5 separate regions of the Homo sapiens genome follow, and all the other regions are linked to region 1. The links are contacts of gene promoters, found by promoter capture Hi-C in blood cells and fetal thymus (Javierre and others, 2016). All regions are on one chromosome and are shown on one strand. The core of a region is centred on a gene start or on the middle of the fragment in contact, and the rest is flanking DNA. Distances in the headings are between cores, read along the strand shown.

Region 1 (2,549 bases), core at 30-2,529:
CTCCCTCCCAAACCTGCCACTTGATTCTGGCTCCCTGGGCCAATTGCCCCCAATTCTGCCCCCGCCCCCATCATCCTCTATCTCTTCCTTCCCTAGTGTCCCCTATCTCACTCAAGCTCACCCCATTTCTGCCTGGCTGTCCCCACTCTCCATCCCCAAATCATCATTCAAAACTCTCTGTTCCCCCAGCTCCGGACAGCCCCTGACTCCATGCCTTCTCCCGACTCATCCGCTGTCCCTTGTCCCAGGGGTTCCCCTCCCTCCTAACACACACACACCGGCTCAGGGAGGGAGAGGAAATGGTGCACCAGGAGAGAGAAAAGGCAAAAGGTCATAGGCAGTCGGGTGGGCGGGGAGGAAGGAAAGTGAAAGGTGACAGGAGAGCTGGGAGCTGTCCCGACATGTCCTGGTTTGCCCCTCCCCCAGGGGGGCCTGTTCTCCCGACTCCCCCCAGGCCCCCTTAGACGCTTTTCCAGGGCTCTGCAGAAGGGCACCTGAAGATGGTGGGGGCCGGGGTCAGCGGGCGAGTGAGGCTGGAGACCTCCCCCGGATCCCCCATGCTGGAACAGCGGGGACAGGGGCCTCCTCAAGTTCACTTCTCCTGGGTCCCCTGTTCGTCCCAGCATCCCAAGGCAGTGCTGAGGCCCCGGGGTGGCTGCGGGAGGGGGGCCACACCCCTATATCTCACCTAGCGCAGACCACACGCTTCCAGACACCAGCAGATGGAGGCGGCACCTGCTCCCGTCCCAGGCCGGAGTTTGCAAGCTGCTCGCCGCCCGCGCCCCTCCCTGGGAGCAGCCCGGGACCGCGGTTGGAAAGGAGAAAGCGGAAAGAAAGAAAGAAAAGAAAAAGAGAGAGGGAGAGTGAATCTGGGAGAAAGCGCAGAGGGAAGAGCAGCCAGCGAGTGTCCGGAGCGAGGAGGAGGAGGAGGAGAAGGAGAGGGGGAAGAAGAGGAGGAGGAGGAAGGCTCGGCGCCCCCTCCCTCGCCGCCAACCTGCCGCGGGGCGTGCGGTGCTTGGGACCATGTGCCCGCGCTCGCTCCGGGCCGCCACCCAGCGCCTCCGGTGGCTGCGCGGGCGCCCCAAGTGTTCGTGTGTCTGCGGCGGGTGGGCGTCCGGCTCGCGCTGCCAAGCGCCCCAAGTTGCCGCCGCGCCCCGCAGCGGGGACGCGAAGCCGGCGCGGGGCGGGTGTATTTACCTGCCGCCAAGACCTTCATTATGGGCTGCACTTCAGAGGGCCTTGGAGGAAACCTCAGATGCCGGCAGTTTTCAGAGGTTCATGCTCAAATGGGGAATTTGCCTGATTTATATACTGGAGCCTGTGTTGTAAGACAGAAACAGCTATATTTAGCCGGGATCCCCAGTCCAGGAAGTTGTTTGAGGTGCATCATAGGAAATTATGAATGGAAGAAAGTGAGAGTGAAGGGGGGGGACGAGTGAGGGGGGAGGGTGGGGAGAACAGACTTTTTCCCTCTTCTAAGAATTTGATTGATAAAATTATAATGAAGCCTTCGACAAAACGCCCTGTGGTTTTCCTGCCTGGCTTGTCCCGGGAGTTGTCTGAAGATGGGCATCGCCAGGAGGGGGCCCCTGGCCGAGTCAGCAGGGGTCCCAGCAGTGGGCGCCCCAGACGGCCCTGACTCACCTGGGTTTGGGGAGGTAGCGAGTCTGGACTAGCAGATGGAGACTGGCCCCTGTGCCCCCTGGTTGGGGGGCTTTAGGGGGGCAGTGGGAGGAGGAGGGCTAGGGCTTGGCTGAGAAGGAGGCTCCAGGAGGAGGGGCCGGGGCCGGCGTGGACTTTAGACGGTCATAAAGTGGAACTGAACATGGGCGCTGGAAGCCACCCCAGAGGTAGCCTCCTCCAATCTGCACATTGCCACTGGGCCCCAAGGGGCTCCGAGGGGAACACGTTGCCCAGGGCCCCAGAGGGTCAGGCCTCCAGACACCACCAGTGCACTCGCCCTGCTGACCACTGTACCTGTGAGGCTGGGGAAGGGGCTAGGAAGACATGGGGGTAGGGGTGACTGACTCAGTTCTGTCGGGACACTCTGGGAAGGTGCTTCTGGGAAGGCGGTCCAGCATTTCCATTCTGAAGCAGGACTGAGAGAGGCTTGGCGAAATCGTACCCCAGTTTCCTCCTCCGGGTGCTGATTGATGGTTGGGGAAACTGAGAAGTGGCTGGTCCCTTCCAGACCTGCCTTGGAAGCCCCTTTGAGCCCAGCCTCAGAGAATGATGGAGGTCCCCAAAAAGTGCTTCTAGAGGCTCTAAGGCAGTGTCACATGTTCTGGCGTCTTCTGAGGCCAGGCGATTTGTGAATGAGGAAGGGCAGAAAGGAGCAGTGGGGAGCCGGGCAAAATGAGCACAGGGACACCTCCAAGAAATGCAACAGAAAAGTGAAAATAAATACACCCTATGAGATGCGGGAATGCCGGCCAGACAGCATGGCCACGCGTCTGGGGCCATGCCGTCCCTAAAGCTGCCAGGGGACCCCCAGTACCAGGAGATGATTTAGTCCCCTGTGGCCCCTTCCCAGCCCTTCCGCCTGACCC
Region 2 (2,549 bases), core at 35-2,534, 130 kb before region 1:
GAGGTAAACATAAGCTTCTTGAGGCCAGAGAAAGGCCTTATACTTCTTTACACATTTCCCCACAAACCCTACAGAAAACCACTATTATAAAAAGGGGCTGCAACAATTGTTTACATTCCTGAAATCCATGGATTAAGCTGGTGGGAATAGAGAAAATGGCATGCAGCACAAAGGTAGAAATTATGTCAATAAGGTTGCCTACACGCTATTGATTGAATAACTCCATAAGGCTCTGTCTAGCCATTAATTCAAAGTTTCTCAACTGCTATGCCTAGATAGCGATCCTTTCCACCTCGATATAGCCAGCCTGTGCCTAGGGTAGATAATACCCTTGGACTATTTGCCCGTATGCACAAATATTCTCATTTGCTTACCCCAGTATGTCATATAAATATCATTTCCTTGTGTCCTTGTATGAAAAGATTAGAAAGCACTGCAGTTTCCTTATGAAGTCGAAAATTCCAAGTTTTAGGTTACTAATGGGTTAAATAGCAAACACAAGGACATTGAAGAGCAACGTTTATTTTTCTCCCAGTAGCTTTTGGATTCAGACCTGCCAGGGGGGATGGAGAGCTAAGTATTGCTGATGAGATGGCACAGTAGTGGAAGGTACAGATGATGGTGAAAAGCTCTGGATAGTAGAGGAATCCAAGTAAGGGGGATGGATGCCCTTGAAAGGAAAGACTGATGAGAGACATGGCCTAATTTTCAATTTTCCCTACTATTAGCTCTGGCTCATCATTTGCCATGAGCTTGAGGACTTTTCTCCAAGATTCACTCCCTTGATTATCCTTCCATTTGTAAAACCTACAGACAGCACTAGAATGTGAAGAGAAAATCAGTTCCAAAAATGAGAATTAAAATATTACCTTTTATTAGCTAACATTTGTATAATACTTTACAGCTTATACAGCAGCACTTTTCATACACGTTTTCTCACATAAAAAGTTACCTTTACTCTCCAAAACTCAAAAATATACACTGATGGCCAGATTAAACTCTTTTGTTCTGAAGGCACATATGCCAAGAGGTAAGCTGTAAAACAAAAATGGCCAAATCTTTCACATGCTAAGGAGAGAAGGTGATGCATATTATTAATTTCCTAGAGAAGAAATATAGGCATTTGTTTAAATGGGAGTCCTGAATATGATTTTACTGATGTGTCCTGGAGGCTCCCATGAGCTACATATCTATAGCCCTTCATTCTGGTTACCTACATTTGAATTGGTTAAATCCTGGTTGGCAGAATTTTAAGTTGTTCAAAATTGGAAAAGGAGCTAATGTATTCACTTAATAAATGTTTGCTTCATGAATTCACACTGTCTCCAAAGATCAGTTAGGGAAAAATCCAACATTTCAATTACTTAGGGTTATTTTTCATATTAAGAGCTAACTATGTGCACAGCCATGTGTAAATATATTATAGTCATGGTCCCTCCTGGAAACTACTCAAATGTGAGACTAATTGTGGAAGGAAACTTTGGAGATAAATGAACAAAGTTTAGAATTGGAAGGTAATTTAGTCCAAATTGTTCATTCATTCATTAATTCAACAAATGTTGATTGAATAGCTGGGCACCAAACTCTGTACTGTGGAGATGAAAGATATAGCCACTCACAGTCTAGAGAAGGACAAATAGTTATCCTGAGGATGAGATGAGGGTATTATCAGAGAAGACTTCTTTGAAGAGTCTGCGCATGAGCTAGGTATTAGAGGATAAATTTAGGACAGTCAGGAAGAAAAGTGGAAAAGCACAGTACAAGCAAAGTGAACAGCATATGCAAATACTTTGAGTGAGAGGAAACTGGGCAATAGCTGCAGATGAGGATGGAGGTGAGGATATGACGGGTTGTGAAAGGAATTGTATACACACTGTCTTTGAATTTGATTGAAAACTGATGGATATAATAGAAGAATTCTAAGTAAGAAGGTGACATGAACAGATTTTCCTATTAGTAATATTATTTCAGCGGTGATATGGAGAATATTTTGTAGTGTGGACAAGAAGGAAAGCAGGAAAAATAGTTAGATAGCCACTGTAGTAATCAATGCAAGAGTGAGGAAGGGATACTTTTGCGAGATAATCAGACGGTAGAAAGTCCCAGAGCTGGTGATTGATTTTATGCTTGAGAGTTGTAGAAATGTCTTTACGCTTATCTCACAAATGAGCTAACTGACCTAGAGTGTGTCTAAATGACTTGACCAAGGTCATTCAGCTAGTTATCAGCAGAGCTGATATTAGATGCCAGGTCACCTAATTCCAAATTCGTTGTTCTTACTGTTGTGGTATATGATTTTTTTCAAATCAAATTTTTAAAAAGATCGTATTTTAAATGCTTTTAGGGAATTTGCTACTTAAGAAATTCTTTGTATATACATTGCAAAAAGTACCATCGCTCCCCTAATTTACATTCTAAAAAAGTCTCAAAATATACTAATGTTTAATTTATATTTACTCACATAGTCAAAAGTTTTGTTCCTTTTGGGATAGATTGCCACTATTGTATATGATCAAAAAGTATGCTTTTTTTTCTGTGTAGTCATAGCA
Region 3 (2,549 bases), core at 28-2,527, 110 kb before region 1:
TCTTTCACTTAACATTGTGTTTTCTTTTCTTCTTCTTTTTTTTTTTCCACAAATAGGGCTTTTAATTTGACACTATTAAAAGTCTGAATGTTAAACAGATTCGTGGACCGATGGTTCATATCCATCAGCTCATTCAATTTTAGCACCTTTCTCATCCTTGGTAGCTTTTTCAAAACTACTACCTTCACCATGAAGCTACATGAGTTTTCCCAATTCAAACTTGGGCTTCTTTATTTTTACTTTCCTAATGAAGACACCATGGAGAGGATAAACAGATAGGCAAGCCTTTTCTATGTCTTTTCCAGTGCTGTCTGGAATCAATTTATTGACCACTTCTTTCAAGTCATTTGTCTGCACCTCTTGGGTCATGATTTCCATCATCTTCTTCTGGATTTGGCAGACCTGTTAGTGTCAATTGTAAGAAGTCTTCCATGTGTAATTGTTGCATTTTTTAGTAAAATCAACACAAAACAGACAAAGTAAATAATCATTGATAGTCTTGACATCAATGTGAACTTAAATCATGGTCTGCTATTTTTTAGCCATGGAACACATTTTGTCACAGATAAGATCCATGCCATGGAAATTAATCAGGCATTTTTGCCCTGAACATCTTCAGTATCAGCTTGAATTTTCTAAATGCAACTTCATCATTCTGCACATCAGACAAACTCACTTCAAACACATGACCCTTGAGGCCATCAGATGCAATTTTGATTCCTTGAGTCCTGGCGATGAGTGTCTTTCCCATAGTTATTATACTGAACATAGCAGGTGCTTTCACATCATACCAATCTTTCTTAGAAAATGGGTCAAGGTATTTGAGCCCAGGAGGTCAAGGCTGCAGTGAGCTGTTGATCACACCACTGCACTGCAACCAGGGCTACAGAGCAAGACCCTGTTTCAAAAAAGGAAGGAAGGAAGGGAGGGAGGGAGGGAGGGGGAATGGAAAGAAGGAAAGGAAGAGACAGAGAGAAATAAAAAATGAAAGAAAGAAAAGAAGGAGGGAGAGAAAGAAAGAAATAAAATGGATCAACCACTTTCTTCTTGGCTTGCTTTTGCCACCTTTCATAAAGTGCTTGTTCTTGCCAACTACCATGTGCTTTTCAGCCAAAAGGGCAGCATCATGTTTTCAAAGTTCATCCATGTATGGCATGTGTCATTACTTCATCCCTTTTTATGGCTGAATAATACTCCATTGTACGGATACACCACATTTTGTCTATCCATGTATTAGTGATGGGCATTTGGGTTCTTTCAACCTTTTGGCTATTGTGAATAATGCTGCTATAAACATTTGTATATAAGTTCTTTTTGAGTATCTATTTTTAATTTTCTTGGATATATACCTAGGAATAGAATTGCTGGGTCATATGTGTTTAATCATTTGGAGAACTCCAAAATTCTTCCAAAGTGGCTGTACCATTTTACATTCCCAACATCAGTGTATGAGGGTTCCAATTTCTCCACATCCTTACCAGCACTTGGTATTGTCTCACTTTTTGATTCTAGCCATCCTAGTGGGTGCAAAGTAAGTGGTACCTCATTGTGGTTTTAATTTGTATTTCTCTAATGACTAATGATGTCAAGCATCTTTTCATGTGCTTCTTATCCATTTATATATATTCCTTGGAGACATGTATATTCGGATCTTTTGCCCATTTTTTTTTTTTTTGAGACAGAGTCTTGCTCTGTTGCCTAGGCAACAGAGAAGCTGGGACCATAGGTGTGCACCGCCATGCCTGGGTAATTTTTAAAATATTTTTGTGGAGATGGGGTCTCGCCATGTTTCCTGGGCTGGTCTCGAACTCCTGGAGTCAAGCATTCCTCTCACCTTGGCCCCCTAAAATGCAAGAATTACAGGTATGAGCCTCTGCATCCAGCTTCCTTTGCCCATTTTAAAAACGGTCATTTGTCCTTTTATTACTGAGGTGTAAGAGTTCTTTATATATTCTGGGTAGATTCCTTACCAGATATACAATTTATAAATATTGTCTTCCATTCCATTTTCATTTATTTGGATTTTCTTTAATTTCTTTCAGCCATGTTTTGTGGTTTTTAGATTATAAATTTTGTATTTATTTTGTTAAATTTATTCATGAGCATTCTTTTCATACTGTTCATAATAGTATGTGAATAGTATGTGAACTGCACAATAGCATGAAAAGAATAAAATACTTGGGAATAAATTTTCATCTTTGTATTATTCATTGCAGGTATATAGAAATACTTTTGAATTTTGTATACTGATTTTGTATTCTACAACCTTGGTAGGATAGTTAATTTTATGTGTCAACTTGGAGGGTGCTACTGGATGAAATTAACATTTAAATCAGTAAACTTTAAGTTAAGCAGGTTGCTTTGAGTAAAGTAAAACTAACACTCCATGATGTGTGTGGATCTCATTGAATTTGTTGAAGGCCTGAATAGAACAAAAAGACTGGCCTCCCTGAGCGGGAGGGAATGCTCCAGCAGATTGCCTTAGACTTCATCTGCACCATTGACTCTCCTGGGTCTCTAGCCTGTTGGCCTTCAGACTGGAACCGCAT
Region 4 (2,549 bases), core at 28-2,527, 93 kb before region 1:
ATCTTTTTTATATTGATGATATACTCATTTTAAAACAGTCCTTCTTATTTCTATGATATACTTCTCATTCTTTTTCCATCTGTTCTCATCTTTTTTCCATCCACTTCCCTCTTTTGCTTTTGTTCTTTCTTCCACCTCTAATTGTGGGCATCCCCAAACATCCCCCAAAATCTTTGATCATATGCTCTTCTAGCTCTATGTGCTTTCCTTTGGAAGATTCATCCATTCTCAGGGTTTCAAGCATCACGTGTATGCTGTCGACTTCCATATGTGTTATCTTGAGCCCTGATCATCCCCAAGAGCTCCAGTTCTATATCTTTAACCTTCTTTCGGGCATTTGTGCTTTGAGTTAACACTGTCATGTCAAATCCAGTATGCTCGTCTTTTTATTCACCACTGCCTTCCCTTTTCCACACATAGAACAAGTTTCTCTACCCAGTTTCCCCCCATCTCAGCACCACCTTTATCTCAGTGTCTTAAGTTCAGAATCTTGAAATCATTCTCCTGCATTATCCTCATTTAGTCAAGTATCAGAATTCCCCTAAGCCTTCCCTTTCCAGCCTGTTCTTACTGCCAAAACTCAAGTCCAGACCTTCATCCTCTCCTATCTGAATTACTACCACAGCCTTGAGGCTCTCCCACAGCCTCCTGGATCCTAGATACCACTGCCATCTACTGTTATTTAAATATGACTTTTATTCTATCGCTTCCCTAATCAAAAATATCTCATGAGTCTTATTTCCAGCATCAAGTCTAAACACCTTTTCTTGGCTTTCGGGCTGCTTGTAGCCTGGCTCCACCTTATCTGTCTTATTACCCAACATCTTCCCCTTCCTTGAGTTAGGTCAGTTTTCTCACTGTCACAAGAACTGGCCAAGTTCATTTCTTCCCCCATATCTTAACAAGTGTATTTTCTCTTGTCCAGAATGCCTTTCTTTCCATTGGCCCAAATCATATCCATTTTGCAAGAGAATTGTCTATGCTTCCTGTGTCCAATTCCCTGCTTTCTGTTCTCTTTAACCCACTTTAATCAAGCTTTTATCACCACCACTTTACTATTCAAGCCATAATTCTTATCACTTTCCTATCATTAGTCACTTTCTCAGTCTTTCCCATCTCAGTAAACGACACTATCATTTACTTAGTTGCTTCAAACCTAAAAGCCATCTTTAGTTCTTCTCCCTCAAAACCTATATCCAGTCCATCAGTGAGTCTAGTGAGCTTTCCATTCAAAATATATTTCAAATCTGGCCACTTCTCACTATCTCACTGCTACCACTCTGGCCCAAGCAAACAGTACCTCTCCAGTGGTCTCCTTGCTTTCATTTTTGCCCTTGCACAGTTTATTTCACCAAAGCATCTCTAAAGATGTCAATCTATTCATGTCACTTCACTGTTTATGGCTTTTAAGGCCATACCTGATCTGCTCTAGCCCAAGGCTCTGACCTTACCTTCTTTCAATTTCCCCTTACTTCCTCGTCTCTATTTTCTCTGGCCTTCTTTCTGTTTCTACAAAAAGCTAAGCTTTTTGACACCTCACTTACACATGGACACATTTCAGAATAGTCACTAGATAGGTTAGAAAAGAATAAGTGTTTTCAGTTTCCACAATATTTGTCACTAAAATATGTATTGTATTAACAGGAAAAACTTATTTCTAAAATCTACATTTTTGTATAAGTTTATTTTTATTTTGAAATAATCTCAAGCTTACAGAAAACCTGCAAGTACACACAAATCATGTTTTATTTTCTGAGCCATTTGCTTTATCACTCCTGTATACTGTACTATGTAATTCCTATAGGCAAGGATATTCTCCTATATATTCACAATATAACCATCAAAACTGAGGAATCAGCTTTGATTCATTACTGTCATCTAACCCTCAGATTCCTTTCAAGTTTTTCCAGTTGTCCCAGTAATATCCATTATGGCAAAAGGATCCAGGTTAGAATCATGTGTTGTATTTAGTTAAATTTCTTTAGCTTCCCTTAGCTTGGAACAGGTCCTCAGTCCTTCCTTGACTTTCATGACCTTGACATGTTTTAATAGAACAGGCCACTTATTTTTTAGAATGTCCTTCAATTTGCATTTGTCTGATGTTTCCTCAAGATTAGATTCAGGGTATGCATCTTTTTAAAGAATAACATAGGGCTGGGCATGGTGGATTATGCTTGTTATCCCAGCACTTTTGGAAACTGAGGCAGAAGGATCACCTGAGGCCAGGAGTTCAAGACCAGCCCGGGTCACACAGCAAGACCTGCATCTCCTAAAACTTTTTAAAAAGTTAGCTGGGTGTGGTGGCACGTGTCTGTAGTCCTAGTTACTCCAGAGGCTGAGGCAAGAGGATCACTTGAACCCAACAGTTTTAAGGTTGCAGTGAGAGCTATGTTCACACCACTACACTCCAGCCTGGGTGACAAAGTGAGACCTTGCTTTTTTTAAAAAAAAAAAAAAAAGAAAGAAAGAAAGAAGGAATATCACAGAATTGGTGCTGAGTAATCTTTACTTCCTTCAGGTGGCACATGATTTTGATTTGTCCCATTTCA
Region 5 (2,549 bases), core at 18-2,517, 80 kb after region 1:
CCCAGCTTGGAGGCAAGGTGCTGTTCCACTGCCCCACATTTCTCTGTCTGCTAGCTGGGTGTCTGGGTGCTCTCGGGATAGGACATCGGGGGGTGCTAATATGAGCAGGGACCCTGCTGTCTCCCTGCCTGCCCCCGTCCCACGCCCAAGATCTGCCCTTGGGAGGAGGCGCATACATACACAGGACATACACAGAGCCCATCTACTGGCTCCTGTGGCTGCTGGAGCTGATGGTCTGTCCTAGTGGTGGGGCTCCCTGTCGCCCTGTACGTGCTGGGAAGGGGGAGTACCTGCCCACCTGTTGCCAGTGCCAGTGGAGGAAGCTGTGTATGAGCGGATAGGGGGCCCTTCTCCGACCCTTCCATGAGGAGAAGGGACTGTCTGTCCCAGGATGGAGCTGAGGGGAGGGAGGTGACCAATGTCTGTCCATCCAGAGGTCTGTATGCCTCGAGGAAAGGGTCAGTCTGTCCTGGGAAGGGGTGGGGGCGGGGCAGTCAGTCCTGAAGTCGGTCTGAGGTCTCCTGGTGTGGGGGCAGTGAGGCGGGGAGACAAGGGCGTCTGTGGGTTTGTGGGAGGGGGAAAGATGGAGAATGAGTGTCTATGGAGGGGGGCGCCAGCCATCTGGGAGCCTGTCGGGGTGGCAGAAACAATCATCCCTAAGGTCTTGGCGGCAGGGGTGGGTTTGGGGCAGTCTGTCATTCTGTTCCACGGCTGGAAGGAGGGCACAGTCGGTCCTTCCTGGGAGCGGGTCAGTCTGTCCGGAGGGTGGAGGTGGCGGGTGGAGGTGTGGGCCCGTCCGCCCCCTGGGTCGGAAGTAGGACTGCGAAGGGGGCGGGTCTAGGAAGGCAGGGGTGGTGGGGGTGGGGCAGGGGAGGGAACGGGGATTAGTGGTCCCTGCCTGGGAGGGGGACGTGTCGGCAAGTCCCGAGGGCGCCTCCGTCCGTGTCGAGGCCCCTCGCGTGGGTGGCGCGCTCAGTCCCGACCCCCGGCGCTACTCACGCGCCCTCGGCGCCCTGCGAGCCCACGATGAAGCCGAACTTGTCGATGCGGCGCTCGGCGAAGCCGTTGGCCTCCGAGTCAGACCCGAGAGAGCTGAGTTCGTCGGTGGTTGCGGCGTCGGGGCCCTGGGCCAGGCTCTCCCGGGTTCCCGACAGGCTTTCCCCGGCCGCGGGCGCGCGCGGCCCATTCTCTCCGTTGCTCTTCGCCATCCCAGCCGCGCCCGCCGCCTGAGCTCCAGCGGCCACCTCAGCCGCCCTGCTGCCGCCGACGCCCCGCCCACGCGCGGCGCCTATTGGCCGCCGCAAGGCCGGGGGGCGGGGCTCCAGGCCCACCCCGGAGCTCTCCCCCCACGCCCAATGGGCGCCGCGGACCCCGGGCCCCGCCCACCCTCCCCCGGCGGGCGCCAACAAGCCCGAAGTGAGGGGGCGGGGCAGCCGTCACCGCAGCCCTCCCCGCCCTCCTCCGGGCTGCCAATCACAAGAACTCACCTGGACGAGCTCGGGCCTTTCCGGGTTGGCTCCAAGCGGGGCCTGTCACCTACTGCAGAGCGCGAGCCGGAGGCCCAGGGCTTCCTCCATGGATTCCTCATCTGCCTCCTGAGCCCCGCTCCCTGCGAGACCCCAAGGACGTGGTAGGGATTGTTTGCCCCATTCATTTATGAGGAACTCTGAGGAGGCCCAAGTGAGTTCAGGGACGCAGAGCGGCTTAAAGGCCCAGCCTGAGCCAGAAGTCTGGCAGTCCCATTGCACTCACTGCTTCTGGGGCTTTAAATTACCTCGTGAGACCTAATTATTAATAATCACCAGCGTTTACTGAGCCACGCACGCCCGAAGCTCTACCTACTTTCTCCTGTAGTCTTTTCCCCAGCAGTTTTATGGAACATAAACATACCATAAATTCACGTTTAAAGTGTACAATGATTTTTAGCATATTTACAGAGTTGTGCAGCCATCACAACATTCTAATTTTAGAACATTTTCATCACCCCAAAAAGAAACTCCTACCAATTAGCAGTCACTCCGCATCCTGGCTCCCCCAGTCCCTGGCAACCACTAATCTGCTTCCTGTTTCTATAGATGTCCCTTTTCTGGATATTTCATATAAATGGAATTATACAATATATGGCCTTTTATGTCTGGATTCTTTCTCTTGAACATTTTCAAGTTTCATCCACATTGTAGCATGTATCAGTGCTTCTGGATTCACATCTGCCCCAGGTATGTCTGACTCCACCCCTCCCTTTCCTGGGATAGGCCCACACCGCCATGAAAGACCTATACTGCCCCTCCTGGGAGCTGGGACTATACCAGATTTTGTTTTTCCATTCATCAGTGATGGTCATTCGCGTGTTTCTAGTTTTTAGCCATTATGAATAATGCTGCTCTGACCATTCAGGTACAAGCTTTTGTGTGGGGGCCTTATGTTTACATTTCTCTTGGATAGATAAGGAAGAGTGGAATTGCTGGGTCATATGGCAACTGTTTAACCTTTCGAGGAACTGGCAAACTGTTTTCCAAATTGGTTGCAACATGTCTTGTAATCTCTTAGCA

The links. The method cuts DNA at HindIII sites, captures the fragments that hold promoters and counts their contacts. A CHiCAGO score of 5 or more calls a contact.
Region 2: a fragment that was not itself captured here is called in contact with the fragment with the promoter of LIF in region 1 in 15 of 17 cell types (M2 macrophages, M0 macrophages, neutrophils and 12 more); the score reaches 19.4 in M2 macrophages.
Region 3: a contact is called between a fragment that was not itself captured here and the fragment with the promoter of LIF in region 1, in 6 of 17 cell types (neutrophils, activated CD4 T cells, M2 macrophages and 3 more). The highest score is 10.1, in neutrophils.
Region 4: a fragment that was not itself captured here is called in contact with the fragment with the promoter of LIF in region 1 in 1 of 17 cell types (activated CD4 T cells); the score reaches 5.9 in activated CD4 T cells.
Region 5: the fragment with the promoter of TBC1D10A here is called in contact with the fragment with the promoter of LIF in region 1 in 1 of 17 cell types (monocytes); the score reaches 7.0 in monocytes.

What each region holds. Positions count from the first base shown.
Region 1 is chr22:30,245,480-30,248,028 of GRCh38, forward strand. LIF (LIF interleukin 6 family cytokine) reads right to left here and starts at 1,280. Exons shown (of 3, transcript NM_002309.5): 1 at 1,198-1,280. The coding sequence starts at 1,216. LIF-AS2 (LIF antisense RNA 2) reads left to right here and starts at 731. Exons shown (of 1, transcript NR_148946.1): 1 at 731-1,514. The HindIII fragment of the contact is 10,846 bases long and covers 1-2,549 here.
Region 2 is chr22:30,119,091-30,121,639 of GRCh38, forward strand. It overlaps HORMAD2 (HORMA domain containing 2), which reads left to right. Exons shown (of 11, transcript NM_152510.4): 9 at 2,542-2,549. Among named protein-coding and RNA genes, the nearest start is that of HORMAD2, 40 kb to the left of the region's middle. The HindIII fragment of the contact is 2,545 bases long and covers 13-2,549 here.
Region 3 is chr22:30,136,583-30,139,131 of GRCh38, forward strand. All of the region lies in intron 10 of HORMAD2 (HORMA domain containing 2), which reads left to right. It also overlaps the pseudogene RPS3AP51. Among named protein-coding and RNA genes, the nearest start is that of HORMAD2, 57 kb to the left of the region's middle. The HindIII fragment of the contact is 4,090 bases long and covers 1-2,549 here.
Region 4 is chr22:30,152,634-30,155,182 of GRCh38, forward strand. The region is part of intron 10 of HORMAD2 (HORMA domain containing 2); the gene reads left to right. Among named protein-coding and RNA genes, the nearest start is that of HORMAD2, 73 kb to the left of the region's middle. The HindIII fragment of the contact is 489 bases long and covers 1,034-1,522 here.
Region 5 is chr22:30,325,674-30,328,222 of GRCh38, forward strand. It overlaps TBC1D10A (TBC1 domain family member 10A), which reads right to left and starts at 1,268. Exons shown (of 9, transcript NM_031937.3): 1 at 1,000-1,268. The coding sequence starts at 1,208. RefSeq lists an enhancer at 1-624 and silencers at 841-890, 1,191-1,520. The HindIII fragment of the contact is 3,707 bases long and covers 1-2,399 here.